Regions from separate parts of the Homo sapiens genome. Here all the other regions are linked to region 1. The links are contacts of gene promoters, found by promoter capture Hi-C in blood cells and fetal thymus (Javierre and others, 2016). All regions are on one chromosome and are shown on one strand. The core of a region is centred on a gene start or on the middle of the fragment in contact, and the rest is flanking DNA. Distances in the headings are between cores, read along the strand shown.

The links. The method cuts DNA at HindIII sites, captures the fragments that hold promoters and counts their contacts. A CHiCAGO score of 5 or more calls a contact.
Region 2: the fragment with the promoter of PPP1R1B here is called in contact with the fragment with the promoter of ARL5C in region 1 in 2 of 17 cell types (neutrophils and endothelial precursors); the score reaches 5.2 in neutrophils.
Region 3: the fragment with the promoter of RPL23 here is called in contact with the fragment with the promoter of ARL5C in region 1 in 4 of 17 cell types (naive CD4 T cells, total CD4 T cells, activated CD4 T cells and 1 more); the score reaches 7.5 in naive CD4 T cells.
Region 4: a contact is called between a fragment that was not itself captured here and the fragment with the promoter of ARL5C in region 1, in 7 of 17 cell types (fetal thymus, activated CD4 T cells, total CD8 T cells and 4 more). The highest score is 9.1, in fetal thymus.
Region 5: a fragment that was not itself captured here is called in contact with the fragment with the promoter of ARL5C in region 1 in 6 of 17 cell types (naive CD4 T cells, activated CD4 T cells, non-activated CD4 T cells and 3 more); the score reaches 8.0 in naive CD4 T cells.

Annotation. Positions count from the first base shown.
Region 1 is chr17:39,164,698-39,167,489 of GRCh38, reverse strand. It overlaps ARL5C (ARF like GTPase 5C), which reads left to right and starts at 1,329. Exons shown (of 6, transcript NM_001143968.1): 1 at 1,329-1,775; 2 at 2,351-2,411. The coding sequence starts at 1,730. RefSeq lists enhancers at 899-1,700, 1,701-2,502. The HindIII fragment of the contact is 4,701 bases long and covers 1-2,792 here.
Region 2 is chr17:39,625,491-39,628,282 of GRCh38, reverse strand. PPP1R1B (protein phosphatase 1 regulatory inhibitor subunit 1B) reads right to left here and starts at 1,331. Exons shown (of 7, transcript NM_032192.4): 1 at 810-1,331. The coding sequence starts at 890. The HindIII fragment of the contact is 16,288 bases long and covers 1-2,792 here.
Region 3 is chr17:38,852,322-38,855,113 of GRCh38, reverse strand. RPL23 (ribosomal protein L23) reads left to right here and starts at 1,393. Exons shown (of 5, transcript NM_000978.4): 1 at 1,393-1,416; 2 at 2,009-2,092; 3 at 2,382-2,510. The coding sequence starts at 1,404. SNORA21 (small nucleolar RNA, H/ACA box 21) reads left to right here and starts at 2,119; the gene lies at 2,119-2,251. RefSeq lists enhancers at 1,140-1,249, 973-1,756, 1,247-2,446, 1,757-2,540. The HindIII fragment of the contact is 31,460 bases long and covers 1-2,792 here.
Region 4 is chr17:38,873,327-38,876,118 of GRCh38, reverse strand. The region is part of intron 1 of LASP1 (LIM and SH3 protein 1); the gene reads right to left. Among named protein-coding and RNA genes, the nearest start is that of LASP1, 4.7 kb to the right of the region's middle. The HindIII fragment of the contact is 1,603 bases long and covers 599-2,201 here.
Region 5 is chr17:38,890,362-38,893,153 of GRCh38, reverse strand. It overlaps LASP1 (LIM and SH3 protein 1), which reads right to left. Exons shown (of 7, transcript NM_006148.4): 3 at 2,650-2,734. Among named protein-coding and RNA genes, the nearest start is that of LASP1, 22 kb to the right of the region's middle. RefSeq lists an enhancer at 1-254. The HindIII fragment of the contact is 3,399 bases long and covers 1-2,792 here.

The DNA of each region.
Region 1 (2,792 bases), core at 80-2,579:
TTCTTCCCGCAAACTTCCCAGCCTTCCTCAATCCTCTTAAACTTGTGTTCACATTCCTTTTTTAATACTCCAAGTGCCATTTCTCAGGCTGTAGCTTAACTCATTCTACATCAGTCTGACAGCAACACATTCCTCCTGTGTGCAGGGTTCTGGACCAGGCAGGGAGTGATTGGGCTGGCGGGGGAGGTCATATGCTGGTTAACAATATATGAATCCCACCCTGGTACTCACAGTTGATGGGAGGAAACAGACTTGCCCGTCTATAAGCCCAGTGTAGGGAGAAGCCCCATGTGGCTGGAGAACCAAGTCAGGGCTGGGGAAGCAGGTGGCTTTTATGGCAGGGCAGCTAATGGGTCTCAGGCATTCTCCTTTCTGAGAAGGTGAAAGGCACTCAAGGAGGAAATGCAGAAGCAAAGGCACCATCAGAAAGAGCCAGGCATGTATAGGCAGGAACCAGTAGATACAGAGCCTGGGAGATAAACCTGTGAAGGCAGGTGGGGGCTGTTCGTGGAAGCTCTTGAATGTCAAGTGGAGACTGATCTGAATCCAGTGAGCAATAGGGAGCCATTGAAGATCTATGAGCTGGGGGAGTTACAGACCCTGAGCTGTGCTTTAGGAAGGTTAATAGGGGCCATGGAGAGGATGCCTTGGGAAAGGAGAGGAAGATGCAGGGAGACCAGTTAGAAAGTTGTTACCTTAATGGAGGGTTGTTACCTTAGTGGAGGCTGCAGGAAGGCAGTACAGTCGGGTGGAAGGAGCTGGCTCCCTGGTGTGTTGGCTGGATCTCCTGCTAACCATTCCTGCAGCCTGAGGGCACGTTGCCTTTTGGACTTCTCCTTTTGTTATCTGATTTTTTGTTTTTTTCCCCCCAGCTTAAGCAAAGAAAGAAATTCACAAGCAACAGCAGGAAACTCCACCTTCCATTCCCTCCTCAGGCCTGGCCTCCTGGTTCTCTGTTGGCCCATGTACTCCTCTGCCAGGTATCTGGGGCCTCTCTGCAGGGTCTCCAGCCGGAGGATCTCTCTTCATGCTCCATCCTTGTCTTCAGGCGCCCACTTTTGGGGATCAGGAAGCTGTGCCTGGGCAGTAGGTTTGTCCGTGAATTGTAGGAGTACTGATTTATCCTAGAAGTTGCCAAGCATCAAGGGGAGACCCTGCCCTTCCCCAGGGGAATGCAATTTGAGTGGGCCCACAAGACCCACGCTAGTGAACCAACTGCACATCTGTGGAGGGTTGGAATATTCTCCCAGCTCAGAGAGGATCGGTGAGCCCTGTCTGTACTACACAGCTGGTAGGTACAGAAAGTGGGTCGCCTGGGGTTTTGCTTCAGTCTAGTGCCCTAGACATGGCACTCAGAGGAGGGAGAGCTGGGATCCGGTTCCGCGCGCAGTGCTGAGTCTCCCCTGATTTGCGGTAGTGGAGCAGTCCACCCGGAGAACTCAGGAGTTTTCGCAGGGCGAGGGGGAGGGCTGGAGCCTGGAACCCCCATATTCCTTGCACCTCTTGGGCCCGGGACAGGCAGCCCTTAGTCACTGGGGTGTCCATAGTGCCCACGAAGGGCCAGCGTCCCAGAGGGTTCCCAGGTCAGGTTGGTGACGTGTGGGGCTTCCCTAACTTCGTAGGCAAAATCTGCCAGACCCTCCCGGGGGAGCGGAGCTCCGAATACCAGGGCCGACTCCGCTCCTGAGGCCGCTGAGCCCTCCTGCACCTGTCCGGCCCGGGAAGTGCCATGGGACAGCTGATCGCCAAGTTAATGAGCATCTTCGGGAACCAGGGTAAGGGGCGCACAGGGCATCCAAGCGAGCGCTTTGATCTCGCCCTCTTCTGGGACTCCTCTGATCTGTGGTCGGACGCACGGGGGGACCTCGGGCTCCGAGGGTCGTATATGGGCGCTCCTCGACTGCCCCGCGGCCTCCCCTGCCCCCGTCCCTGCCTGCTCCTCTTGGGTCCCGGCGCTTCGGTGCGCCCCAGGACGCAAAGCTGGGCGACCCTCCTTTCTCCCCGCTAAACGGAGCCAGCGGCGGGGATGGGGGGCTGCTGCGAGTTTCCTGCGATTGTGACTTCGCGTTATGCTCTTTCTCTAAACACCGTCTCTTGGCAAGCCCCGAAGCGCCCCGGGCCTTTCAGACACTTTTCTGGAATGTGAAGGGAGGTGGGGGCTCAGCTGTCTTTTCCACCGTCCCGGAGTGGGGCAGGTGTCGGAGCTGGGTGGGAAGCAGACGCGGTACGGTGGGCAGAGGTCCCCAGCCTGCGGGGAGCGCTATCTCCTTCCTGGGAGGTCTGGTGGGGGCACACAGTCCCTTGGTCTTCGGGTTTGGCCCTGACGCTGCCCTTCCTCCGACGCTTCCAGAGCACACGGTCATCATCGTGGGACTGGACAATGAAGGAAAGACCACCATTCTCTACCGGTTGTAAGTGACTCTCGGGCGGGGAGGGTAGAGAGCTGGGCCTCCCACCAGACTGACAGGCAGGGGGACCAATCACTGGAGCTCTTCCCTGGGTTCCCGGGCTCCTCTGTAGTCCGGAGGAGCGATTGGGCACGCTGCTTGGACCTTCCTAGTACTGCGGCTCCTCGGTCTGGCATTCAAATCCTGCACCGTACAGGCAACCCTAGCTCCCACTGCTTTCCTCCATCTTCCCGGGGGCCCTGCCAAACCCAGCTCCAGGCCTGCCAAGTGTCCCAAACTGCCTCCCTGCTCTTCGCTCCCTCTAGCGGCAGGTCCCTCCTTTCTCACCCCTGTCCCCTCTGCCAGTTAACTTTCTTCCCCTTCTTCAAACCCAAAGGCTCACTG
Region 2 (2,792 bases), core at 82-2,581, 460 kb before region 1:
GACTGTACCCCCTGCCCTCTATCTCCCCCCATAATGACTTGGCCCCCTCATCACTGCTCAGTGGGGAGCCAGCTGCATCTCAGCTCAGCAACAAGTGACCCCTGCTCCACTAGGGATGGGAAGTGGAGCTCTCTGTCACAGCACCCGCCAGCCTTTGGAAGCCCCTCAACCCCCAAGAAGGCCCTCAGGAGGACTCAGTAGTCTGTGGGAAGAGGTCTGGCTTTGTGATGACTCCCCACCTCTCCCTCCTTGGGGTTGGGGCTCTGGGGCCTGACAGCAGGAGGCCAGAGCCAGGTTCTGGAGACCCCAGCCCAGGCACACACGCGGGATTAGAGAGGGGCAGGGTAGTGGATTCACCCGGTGGCAGCCTCATACTCCTGCCCTGGGTGACAAGGTCAGTGTCCACCGCTGCTCACATCTGACCAGCTCTGGGACAGAGCCAGGCGGAGCGGTCCCGGTGGTAGCCTAGGAGACTGACTACCCTTTGGGGACTGTGCTGGGACCAAAGGACGCCCCCACCCCACTCCTGGGCGGTCTGGAATCGGCCTGTCCCCCCACCCCCGCACCCCCAGCCTCACTGCCAGGAACTCTCTTGCCCCGGGATCAGGACCAAAGCCGCGGGGAAAAGTTGCACGAGTCTCCAGCTAACTTCACACGCGGCCCCGCGCCCCGTCCTGACCGAGGCAGAGCCCGGCTCTCCTTGCGCCCCCACCCCCAGGCCAGTCCGGCCGGGGCAGCGCCTTGGGAGGGCGAAGAAGCCCCGCGGGGTGTGTCGGGTACGCTGCCGGGGTGGGGCACGGGCCCCTTACCATCTCCACCTGGCGGGGGTCGAGCTGGCTAGGGGGCGCGGGCACCGAGAACTGGATCTTCTTGCGGTCCTTGGGGTCCATGGCGCGCGGGGTGGGCGGTGGGGCTGGGGTGCGCGACTCGGGGTCCCGGCGGCGGTCTGTGCTGGGCTCCCCCGCGCAGGCGGCGGGCTGTGCGGCGAGAGGAGGAGGAGGGCTGTTCGCGCACGGATAAAAATACCGTGCCCGCCGAGGGGAGGGCGCGGGAGCGGGAGGAGGGTCGGCGCCCGGGCTGGGCGCGCCCCCAGGCTCTCGGGACTCGGGGCTCGCCCCCCGCGCTCGCTGAGCCAGGTCTGTGCCTCGCTCCCTCGCGCTCCCCGGCCTGGGTGTCTCTGCGTCTCGGTGTCTCTCCCCTCCTGAGTGTCTCTGCGTCTCGGTGTCTCTCCCCTCCTGAGTGTCTCTGCGTGTCTCCTCTCTCTGCCTCTCCCGTCCTTCTCCACCTCCCTCCCTCAGCCTCTCCTCCTCTCCGCGTGTGTCTCTGCCTCTGCCGGGCTCACCCTCCGGTCCCAGCTTTGGGGTCCCCAGCCCGTCCCCTCCGCCTGGGACTGGCGCCCGGGTGCTCGGAGGGAGGGTTTAGGGGAAACTGGCCAATGAGCATGGAGAATCGTGTTCTCCTGGGGCTGGGAGGAGGGTGGGAGTTAGAGCCAAGGCCTGGGGAGCCAGCTGGGGGGCCCCCTGCGGTCTCCCCAGAACTTGAAGCTGCATTATTGATGGAGTCCAGCAGAGAGGATAAAGGGGGAGGGAGGGGGAGAGGGGCAGCGGGGAGGCAGGACTCTGGCTTTAACCCCTTCGTGGTCCTGGTACTGGGAGTTTCAGAGAGGCCTGCGAGGTCGTGGGGAGAGTACCAGCCTGTCACGCTGTGAATGGGGGTGTCCTGGAAAGGGAGCGAGTGTGACCGAGTTGTGTGTGGGAGGACACGTGTCAGTCATCGTGGCAGGGAGAGTGTGCAGGGGTGTGCCGGGGCCCTGTGGTGCCCATAGCCAGGGAGTGTGTTTTGGGGGGTCCGGTGTGGTGTGAGTGTGTCTGTGTAAGTGTGTCAGAGTGTCAAAGATGCAGGTGTGAGTGGCAGGGTGTGGGAGGACTGCGTGTGTGCGGGGGAGGGTGTGGGTGTGGGGGAGGATGTCAGAGGCTGTCAAGGTGATGGGCAGGCGTGTGCCAGCTTGCAGGGGGTGGGGGACTGTATCCACAGCTCCGCTGTGCAGTTGCTGGGGTATGAGGTTGTGGATGTGTGAGCGCTCCTGTGAGGGAGAAGGGGAATGTGCCCTGCCATGATGTACTGTAGATTCACGTGGCTCCTGTCTTTCCTCTCCGGATCTAATGGGGTGGGGAGGACAGGGCCGGCCCAGAGTTGGGGTGGGTTTGGGGGCTGCCTGTACACGTGCCATCACGTGCATGAATTTGGTGCATTCAGAAGCAGGGTTGGGGGAGACAGGTGTGAGCCTCTCTCTCTCCAGAGGTATTTGTGTGTGTCTCTGGAGCGGGAGCGGGAGGAGCTGGCCCTGTGGGTGGAATGTCCCTGTCTATTTGGTCTATTTGTCCGGGCCTTGGGTGCCTTTGCAGGAGCTGCTGTTTCCCTCCTTGGAGCTGTGCAGAGGGTCTGAATGCTTCTGTCTAGCACTGAGAGGGTGTGTGTAGACGTGTACATGCATGTTTTCCTGGGGCTCTGTTTGTGTTGGCGTCCTCTCTCCTGGTCACTCTCAGGCCTGAAACCCCCAATCCTCCTGCAGCTTTTCCACTCCCAGCCCCAGCATCTGGGTCCTGGGTGGAGTGAAAGGCCAGAGGAATCTTCTGGAATTGGGGTCAGGGCCCACTCTGGGGGTGAGGGAAAGGGTGGCAGGAGGTCCAGAGTGTTGCTCATAGGAGTGGGATGTCCTGGCCATCCAGCTCCACATCAGCCCACCCCAGGCCTGGCTCAAGTCCCTGTATGTTTGTTGACTTATATACTTG
Region 3 (2,792 bases), core at 144-2,643, 310 kb after region 1:
TGCCGCCTCTGCCTTCTGGGTTCAAGCGATTCTCCTGCCTCAGCCTCCGGAGTAGCTGGGATTACAGGCGCCCGCCACCACGCCCAGCTAATTTTTGTATTTTTAGTAGAGACGGAGTTTCCCTGTGTTGGCCAGGCTAGTCTCGATCTCCTGACCTCGTGATCCACCCGCCTCGGCCTCCCAAAGTGCTGGGATTACAAGCGTGAGCCACAAGGCCCGGCCACTATTTATATTTTACACTTGATCTTGGCCAAAAGGCCGAGAAGCGATACTATTTATATTTTTATAATACATATCCCCATCTAACATACTACATACTGCAATTACTTATTATATCTTTTGTTTAGTGTCTAATATCCTCCTCCACCTGCACCCCAGCAGAATGTAAGCTCCATAAGGAAAAGAATGTTGATCTATTTTGTTCTCTGATGTAATCCGCTGTACGCCCTGGACAGAACCTGCTGTAAAGTAGGAGCTCAATAAGTATGTGAATTAATGTATCGTGGGAAGGAAAGAACCCAGAGAATAAGGGGCGGCTGAAGCTGTGAAAGGAGCAATTAGGCCTGGCGCGGGGGCTCACGCCTGTAATCCCAGCACTTTGAGGGACCAAGGCGGGCAGATCACTTGAGATCAGAAGTTCGAGACCAGCCTGGCCAATAACATGGCGAAACCCCGTCTCTACTAAAAATACAAAAATTAGCCCAGCGTTGTGGCGGGCGCCTGTGGTCTCAGGTACTCTGAGGCTGAGACAGAGAATTGCTTGAACCCGGAAGACGGAGGTTGCAGTGAGCTGAGATCTCGCCACTATACTCCAGCCTGGGCGACAGAGTGAGACTCGGTCTCAAAAAAAGAAAAAAAGAGTGTGTGTTGGGGGGGACGGGTCAATAAATAGAGCAATACTGTATATGTAAAATACAGAATGGTATGATACCAAGAACACATAGATGGAATGATCTGCAGCACTTCTCAACTGTATTACATTCAACGAAACCGTTTAGAGCTTGTTCTCCCTCCCTCCCCCACTTTCTTTGTTCCTTGGGGAACCCCCACACGGCACAAACCGTGTTTTAATTCCTATTCTCTAGTGTGCAGATAAGTGCCTGGCACTATTAAGTGGTCAAAAGAGGTCGTGAGCAAGTTAACAAATCACTGTTTCCATGTCCCTAACTACTCTTAAGCTCGTAGAGAAGATACTTCCTATCTCTTGCGCTTCTACCTCAACTCCCACTTCGCAGAGAGGGCTAAAAGCGACGTCGTAAACTTATTACGTAATAAGGCAGCGCCCAGAGGCGGAAGAGGCCGGTTTTTGCTCCGGCCACGTGAGGAGGGTGGGCGGGGCGTTAAAGTTCATATCCCAGTGTCCTTTGAATCGACTTCCTTTTTTCTTTTTTCCGGCGTTCAAGATGTCGAAGCGAGGTGAGGTTTTGTTTCTGGAGGATCCTCCACCATCTGTCGTGCAGTGGCTGGCGGATTCGTCAGGAGCGGTGGCCCTAGGCAGCTGGGGCGCTTTGCTCTCCTTCAGGCCGGAGAGAGAGAGCCAGGCCACCGCGAGAGCACTGCCAGGGCCCTCGAAAGTGGCAGTGGGGTGCTGGAGAGTTGAGATGGCAGGATCCCGACGTGAATGTAGTCTGGATACCGCGAGATCGCTCCGCGAATAGGGCTATCGTAATGGGGTTGAAGTTAGACTGGATTAGGCCCTGGTTTGCGCGACCTCTGCGGTTTTATGCCTTGCAGGAGTAATTGCGTTTTGCGAAAGTTAGAGCAAGGGTTGAGTCGTCTAGGTTTCTTAATTTCGATGTCAGAGTGTTAATAGTAAGAAATAGGCTACTTTCCGTGAGAATCGGGTGGCACATGGGGACGGCATAAGTAAAATCCGAGCGAGCTAATCTATAGCGTACAGTCTATCAAAGCATGTGCGGTGAATTACAGCTTGAGTATGAGGGGGAACTCCGAACCATGTCTAGATTGTGATCTCTTTATCCTGTTTCCCTTCCCTTTATATCCACAGGACGTGGTGGGTCCTCTGGTGCGAAATTCCGGATTTCCTTGGGTCTTCCGGTAGGAGCTGTAATCAATTGTGCTGACAACACAGGTGAGGTCTTTGCACGTTGCTATACTCCCCCTTTTAAAAGCACTCAATGGGCCTGTGGCTAATGACCTATTGAGCCGTCAAGAAAGGGGAGAGTGAAAACATCGCTTTTGGGTGAAGTGGCAACATGTGTTGTTTGCTTCAATCGGTGGTGTGACAAGGCGTTCTTGCGGACTAACTGCTTGGGCAGTGAGTGGAGGGAGGGGCTTTGGAAGTGTTTGGGAAATGTTATACTGATGGAACGGCCTGATGGCCCTCAACATTTTTTATTTTTATTTACATTCTTTTGTAGGAGCCAAAAACCTGTATATCATCTCCGTGAAGGGGATCAAGGGACGGCTGAACAGACTTCCCGCTGCTGGTGTGGGTGACATGGTGATGGCCACAGTCAAGAAAGGCAAACCAGAGCTCAGAAAAAAGGGTGAGTAAACACTGAGCCCACCTTAATACTGATGAGTAGTGGGGGGACGCTTTCCTTTATTGGAAAATGGATCAGTTTTCAAGGCCTCAAGTTTGTTTTCCATTGAGAGGCAGTGTGAGATAAGTATCTTAAGTTTTTGCTCATATTGTGTTGGAGGGGGGACCATCATCTTGTCACTTCCATACCTTAGTTGTTTTTTTGTTGTTGTTTTTGTTTTGTTTTGTTTTGTTTTTTGAGATGGAGTCTCTCTCTGTCGCCCAGCCCATACTGGAGTGCAATGGC
Region 4 (2,792 bases), core at 151-2,650, 290 kb after region 1:
AGAAGTATTGATGCTTAGGCAAACCCATGACAACAGGATCTAAATTCACCCCCAGAAGCCCAGGATGATGTGCTGGATCACCACCAAACAGGGGTCCACTGCCAGGACCCCAGAATAATCCAGGCCACCTGAGTGACCTGGCTGGCCTGTCCCTGCCCCATTTCCCAGTAGTCAAGGGAGACATTCCCCATTCCAAAAGAAGGAGGCCAGGAGGCAGGCCCAGGGGGACTTTTGAAGGAGCCCAGCCACAGAGCTGGTTCTTGGCCATTTGTCAAGGAATTCCCCCAAGGCGATGCTTTTCAAAATGTTGTCTCCAAACCCCCGGAGGGAGAGGTGCTTCTGAGACACTGGGAGGAGGGGATAGCAGAAAGAAGGCTGAGAATCTGGGATTCAACCTCCCTACCATGGCCCACTTCAACCAGAGACCCCCAGGGTAATTTCAGGGGGAAATCACCTTCTAATAGGGTACTGGTTCCCTATCAAGAAGACCCAAAGGAAAAACCTAATGGTGGAATATTAAACAGAATGCTAGGAGAACCACTCTTGGGGAGGACGGCCAGCCGGAAGTCTGGAAGCAAAGAAGTGGCGGGTCTAAGCTTGGCCCCCTCCCCAACCTGGGCCTATCCCAGTGACCCAGGGCCCCCAAACTCCTATGAGGCAACTTAAAGACTCCTTCTGGTGCATAACCCAATAGACAGAACCCACCGGGACACTAAGACAGACTGGTCCCTGCCCCCACAGGCCCCTGAAGTGGTGCATACCCCAACACACAGAACCCACCAGGGACACTAAGACAGGCTGGTCCCTGCCCCCACAGGCCCCTGAAGTGACAGCCCCACTCCCTCCCCGAGTAACTGGGAGGCATTGGCAGGGTGCCCCAGCCTGGTCACCACCCAGTCTGCTGGCCTCTGCCTACTTAGCTGCACAGGCCCCTGCCTAGGCCCCTGCCTGGGCCCCTGCCTCCCCCTACCCCCACAGGGGCCTGCCAGGAAAAACATTCTCCAGAATCCAGACCATGACCCACTTTCTCACACACACACACACACACACACACACACACACGAAGGGCTACACACTGTCCTAGGACCACGGACCTCCAAGGCTGCCTCCTGATTGACGTTGGGGAGACAAAGGGAGAGAGACCCCTACTCCAGATGGCCAGGCCTGCACCCGGAGCCAAGCCCCTTGGAGAAGGAGGGTGGGGTGTACTGAGCAGGCAGGGGGCACAGGGCCAACACTGGACCCAGTGGTTCCAAAGACCCCTCCAGGCTGCCACGCGGAGGAAGCAGAGCCCCTCTTCTAGGGGATGGCACCTATTTCTATCAGTAGCTCCTTCCCACCTCCCTCACAGGCCCCACACTCTCATCCAGACACCCAAGGGTGGGGCAGAGGAGGGTGGTCGCCTGTCCCCCTGCAGGGGGCTCTGAGCAGAAACATGGAAACCAGTTACTATGAAGCACAAGTGTCAAGTGGAGCTGCAGCCACTGTCTCCCAGAGTGCTGGAAGGTCAGGAGAGGAGGCCGTTCCACCCCTAATGCTTGGCACCTCCAGCAGCTTCAGGCGACTCCCCTACCCTCTCTGGAGGAAGGCCCCAAGGTTCAAGAAAACCCACCAGCTCCTTCCACTGTGTCCTTTTTGGGGTAGGAAAATTGTGGGGAGGGGAGGCAGAAAATGGCCAGTCCCTCCACAACCGCTGTGAGCCAAGCCTGGACCCTAAGATGAAAGAACTCCTGCCTTGTCTCAATGGGGTCTGGGGAAGGACACTGTCAGGGAAATATGTCCAGAGGACCCCACAGTGACCCCGTCTGCCTCTGCCCTGCCCCATGGGCTCTGTCCCAGAGCAAGAGCCCCCCTCTTTTAAAGGCCCCAGGCAAGATGATTTCAGCGAAGCATTCCTGGGCCTCAGGACTCAAGGAAACTGCACCTCGAGGCATGCACCTCTGCCCCTTCCTGCTGCCTGCAAAGTCCATGGCTTCCCTGTTCACAGAAACCAGACAGACCCTACCTCTGCTGCCTGTTAGAGGCCTCTCAGCCTGGATCCGAGGCTCCAAGGCAGGGTCATCTTGATCTTCCCTTGCCTACCTGCAACCCACTCTAAAGAAAGGTAAACAGGCTGGTAGGGGCAGAAGCCTGCAAGGATACCCCTCACTTGGGACAGCCTGTCCCTCTGTGGCTCTGGGTTGGGGGGGATGTGGCAAGCTTCGTGTCACTGTGCCTGCAGCCTGGCACCTTGGCCTCTGAACCCAGGCTACCTGGGGTGGCCATGACTCAGGGATGGATTATGAGACCATCTCTTCCCTTCCTGTTGCCCAGGGTTACAGTTTCTCCCTCCTGCAGAGGCAATGCCAGCCCCACCCTGGCCGGGGCACCAGCCTAGCTTGGTTGGCCACCTGACCCGCTGGCTTAAAGGCATAGATCTTTGCTGCACCTCCACAAATTCCGAGGAGGACAGGATTATTCCCAGTGGCCCCACGCCCCCATACAAGACCCCAGGCCCAGAGCATTCCTCCAGATAGGGTCAGGAAGGGATGGGACCTACTTTTGGCACAAATGAGATGTAAATAAAATATAAATATGTATAAATAAAAGTACTTTCTGCAAACACACTGGCAGAAGAGCTGAGCAGAAAGAACTGTGGATGTGAATTTCAGCTCTAAGAGAGGGAGATGAGCCACATGGGCTACCTGAGCCTCCATTTATGGAGTGCATCGTTTACAAGAGCGAATACACCTACTTTGTGAGGCTGCTGTGAAGACTGAGCCCAGCATATCGTGATAACTAGTAGCTATTAT
Region 5 (2,792 bases), core at 188-2,687, 270 kb after region 1:
CTCTGCACAAGCAGGGCAGCCTCTGTAAACCTCAGTTTCCCTATCTGTATGATGGGGATAATAAGAGCCCCTCTTTCATCAGGTGGCTGTAAGGATTAAACAAAGTCAGGCATACACGCATACATGCGTGCATGCTTGCACACACACACACACACATACACGCGTGCATGCGTGCACACGCACACACACACACATACACACACGGACACGCTCTGGCCCTCAGTGAGGCCCTAATGAAGAGTGACCGCCATTTTCATCTCCCAAGAGGCCCCCCCGGGAACCCAGCAGGCTATGACCCTGGGAAGCAGGGGGCACAGGCCAGGGACAGGAGCCCCCAAACCCAGAGCGTGGTGCTGGCTTCCCCTGTGGGGGGCAGAAGCAGCCCCTGCCAACAGCATGCCCTGCCCACTTGCTGCCCATCCTGGGCAGGGGGAACAACGTGGAGGTGCTTCCTCCTCAAACCCCACCCCTCGGGGATAGGGTGCCGGGGCAAAAAGAGCTGCAGCCACGCTTTTGTGGAACTGACAAAGGCTGAGGGGTTTGAATTTCTCCCCTGAGAAGGGTGTGTGTGTGTGTGTGTGTGTGTGTGTGTGTGTGTGTGTCTCCAAAGACCTGCTATCTGCTCCCAGCACCTCTTCTCCGAGGTCCTTCTGAGCCCCTCCACCTCTGGCCCCCATGGCCCTTCCACAGGGCAGGGAATTGAAGGCAGGAGTCAGGGCCTGGCTAGAATCTGTAAAATATGGCCAGGCAGGCTGTGGTGTTCCCTGCTTCCTAGTAACTTCAGCTTCTGTGCCGCAGGTGGGTGGGTGGCAGGTGTGAGCTGCTGCTCTCTTCCTCTGTGAGCCTCAGGCCCTACCAGGGCTGTGCAGCATCAAGGGCCCCAGACTTGGGAGTGACAAGACCAGGGCCCAAATCCTGGATCCGCATTCACTCACTCGGTTCCCCTATCTGTAAGACAGAGACGCTGGGTCTTTTACCTTCTCCCAGAACCCAGTCAAGGATAAACAGGGGAACTAACTAAAGGCACTTGCTGAACTACACAATTTCTTGCTTTTCCTTTTTTTAGAGACAGGGTCTCACCCCATCACCCAGGCTGGAGTGTAGTGGTGCGATCATGGCTCACTGCAGCCTCCAACTCCTCAGCTCAAGTGATACTCCCGCCTCAAACTCCCAAGTAGCTACGACCACAGGTGCACACCACCATCTCTGCTCGTTTTTTTTTTTAGGGACCAGGTATTGCTATGTTGCCCCAGCTGGTCTCGAACTCCTGGGCTCAAGTGATCCTCTTACCTTGGCCTCCCAGAGCACAGGGATTACAGGCGTGAGCCATGGCTCCCAGCCCTAAACTACAAAACTTCTCAACAGCATAAGGAACTATCATGTTTATTATTAAGGTAGAGACTGTTTCTTGGGGAGTGGATAGTCCCTGGGTTAGACAAACCTACATTCAAAGCTGCCAGTGTCTATTTCCTCTTCTCTGAAGTGAAGTGATGCTACAGCTGCACAGGGCTGGGTGAGGATTAAACGAGCTCACACGCCGGGAGCACTGAGCCCTCCATCGTCAGCTGTGAATATTATTATTGCCTCTCCTACCCGCAGGACCTCAGCTAGTCCCTCAAAGTCGCTGGGCCTCAGTCGCCTCATCTGTAACAATGGGGAAGATAGCACCTTCCTCACAGGGCTGCTGGGAGGATGCTGAGAGAGGGTGCATGGAAAGCCTGACAAAAGGCAGGGTCGGTTCTCCCTGATGGACCCGGGCAGTCACATCAAGATCAGGCAGCAGGAGTCCCCTCTGGAGGAACTGGGAGAGATCCCCTCTGTGGCCCGGGTGGAACCTCTGCAGTCTTCTCCCGATCCTGAGTGGGTCCTGGGCGCGCTGCCCACGTGGTAAATTCCCCTACATGTATTCTCGCGCCTAATCCTTCATCGGCTGAAGCCCCGCCCCACCCCACCCCACCTCATCACTGGCCAGGTTTGTCCCAGGAGCCCTCGCACCCCCAGGCAGGGTGGGTCAGCTGTTCTGTTCTCAGGACTCCAGACCCTTTGCTTATTCCTCCGTGTCCCCTAAAGACCAAGTTCTCCCTAGGCCTGGAACCCGTCCTCCCCTCCTACAGGGGCACATACCTCCCACTCAGCAGTGTTCTGGAAAGTCAAGCCAAAGGAGACAGAGGCGGAACAGCCCCCTATCCTGTGCCCCCATGGCAGGGCCCCCTTCACACCTTGCCCTTCAGTGGGTGGAGGTTTGGGACGCGGCTATAGAGGGTTGGTTGCCCAGCCTCAGACTGGCATGACCTGGAGGGGCAAATTCCCTGGTCCTCCCCAAACCCCTCCTTTGTGGGTGAGTGTGAATGGGGAAGAGGGAGGGGAGAGTGGCTTCCTGGAGGAGGTAGGCTTTAGGGAGCCCCAGAGCGGGCTCAAATAGACACCCACACCTCTCCAACCCCCTCTAGGTAGGAAGTGGGAGAACGCTCTACCCTGCTCCTTTGATAAAGTCAGGGGTGGGGTCAAGATTAAAGGCAATGCTAGGATTTCAGCACCTTGGCCTTGCAGAGTAACCGCAGGGGAAGGTACTCTTGCCAAATGCCGACCTTACAACTTCCCTCCCCAGCATCCCTCCCTGCCAGGCCCCAGCACCGCCCAGCCCCTCACCTGACTCTGGAGCTCACTCTGTTGCTTGAGGCGAAGGTTTTCCGGGGTGTCCGCCACCATGGTGAAGGACTGCTTGGGGTAGTGTCTGCAGGACAGAAAAAACAGAGTGGGGGTGACTCTGGGGGAGGGGCAGGAGCCTCTGG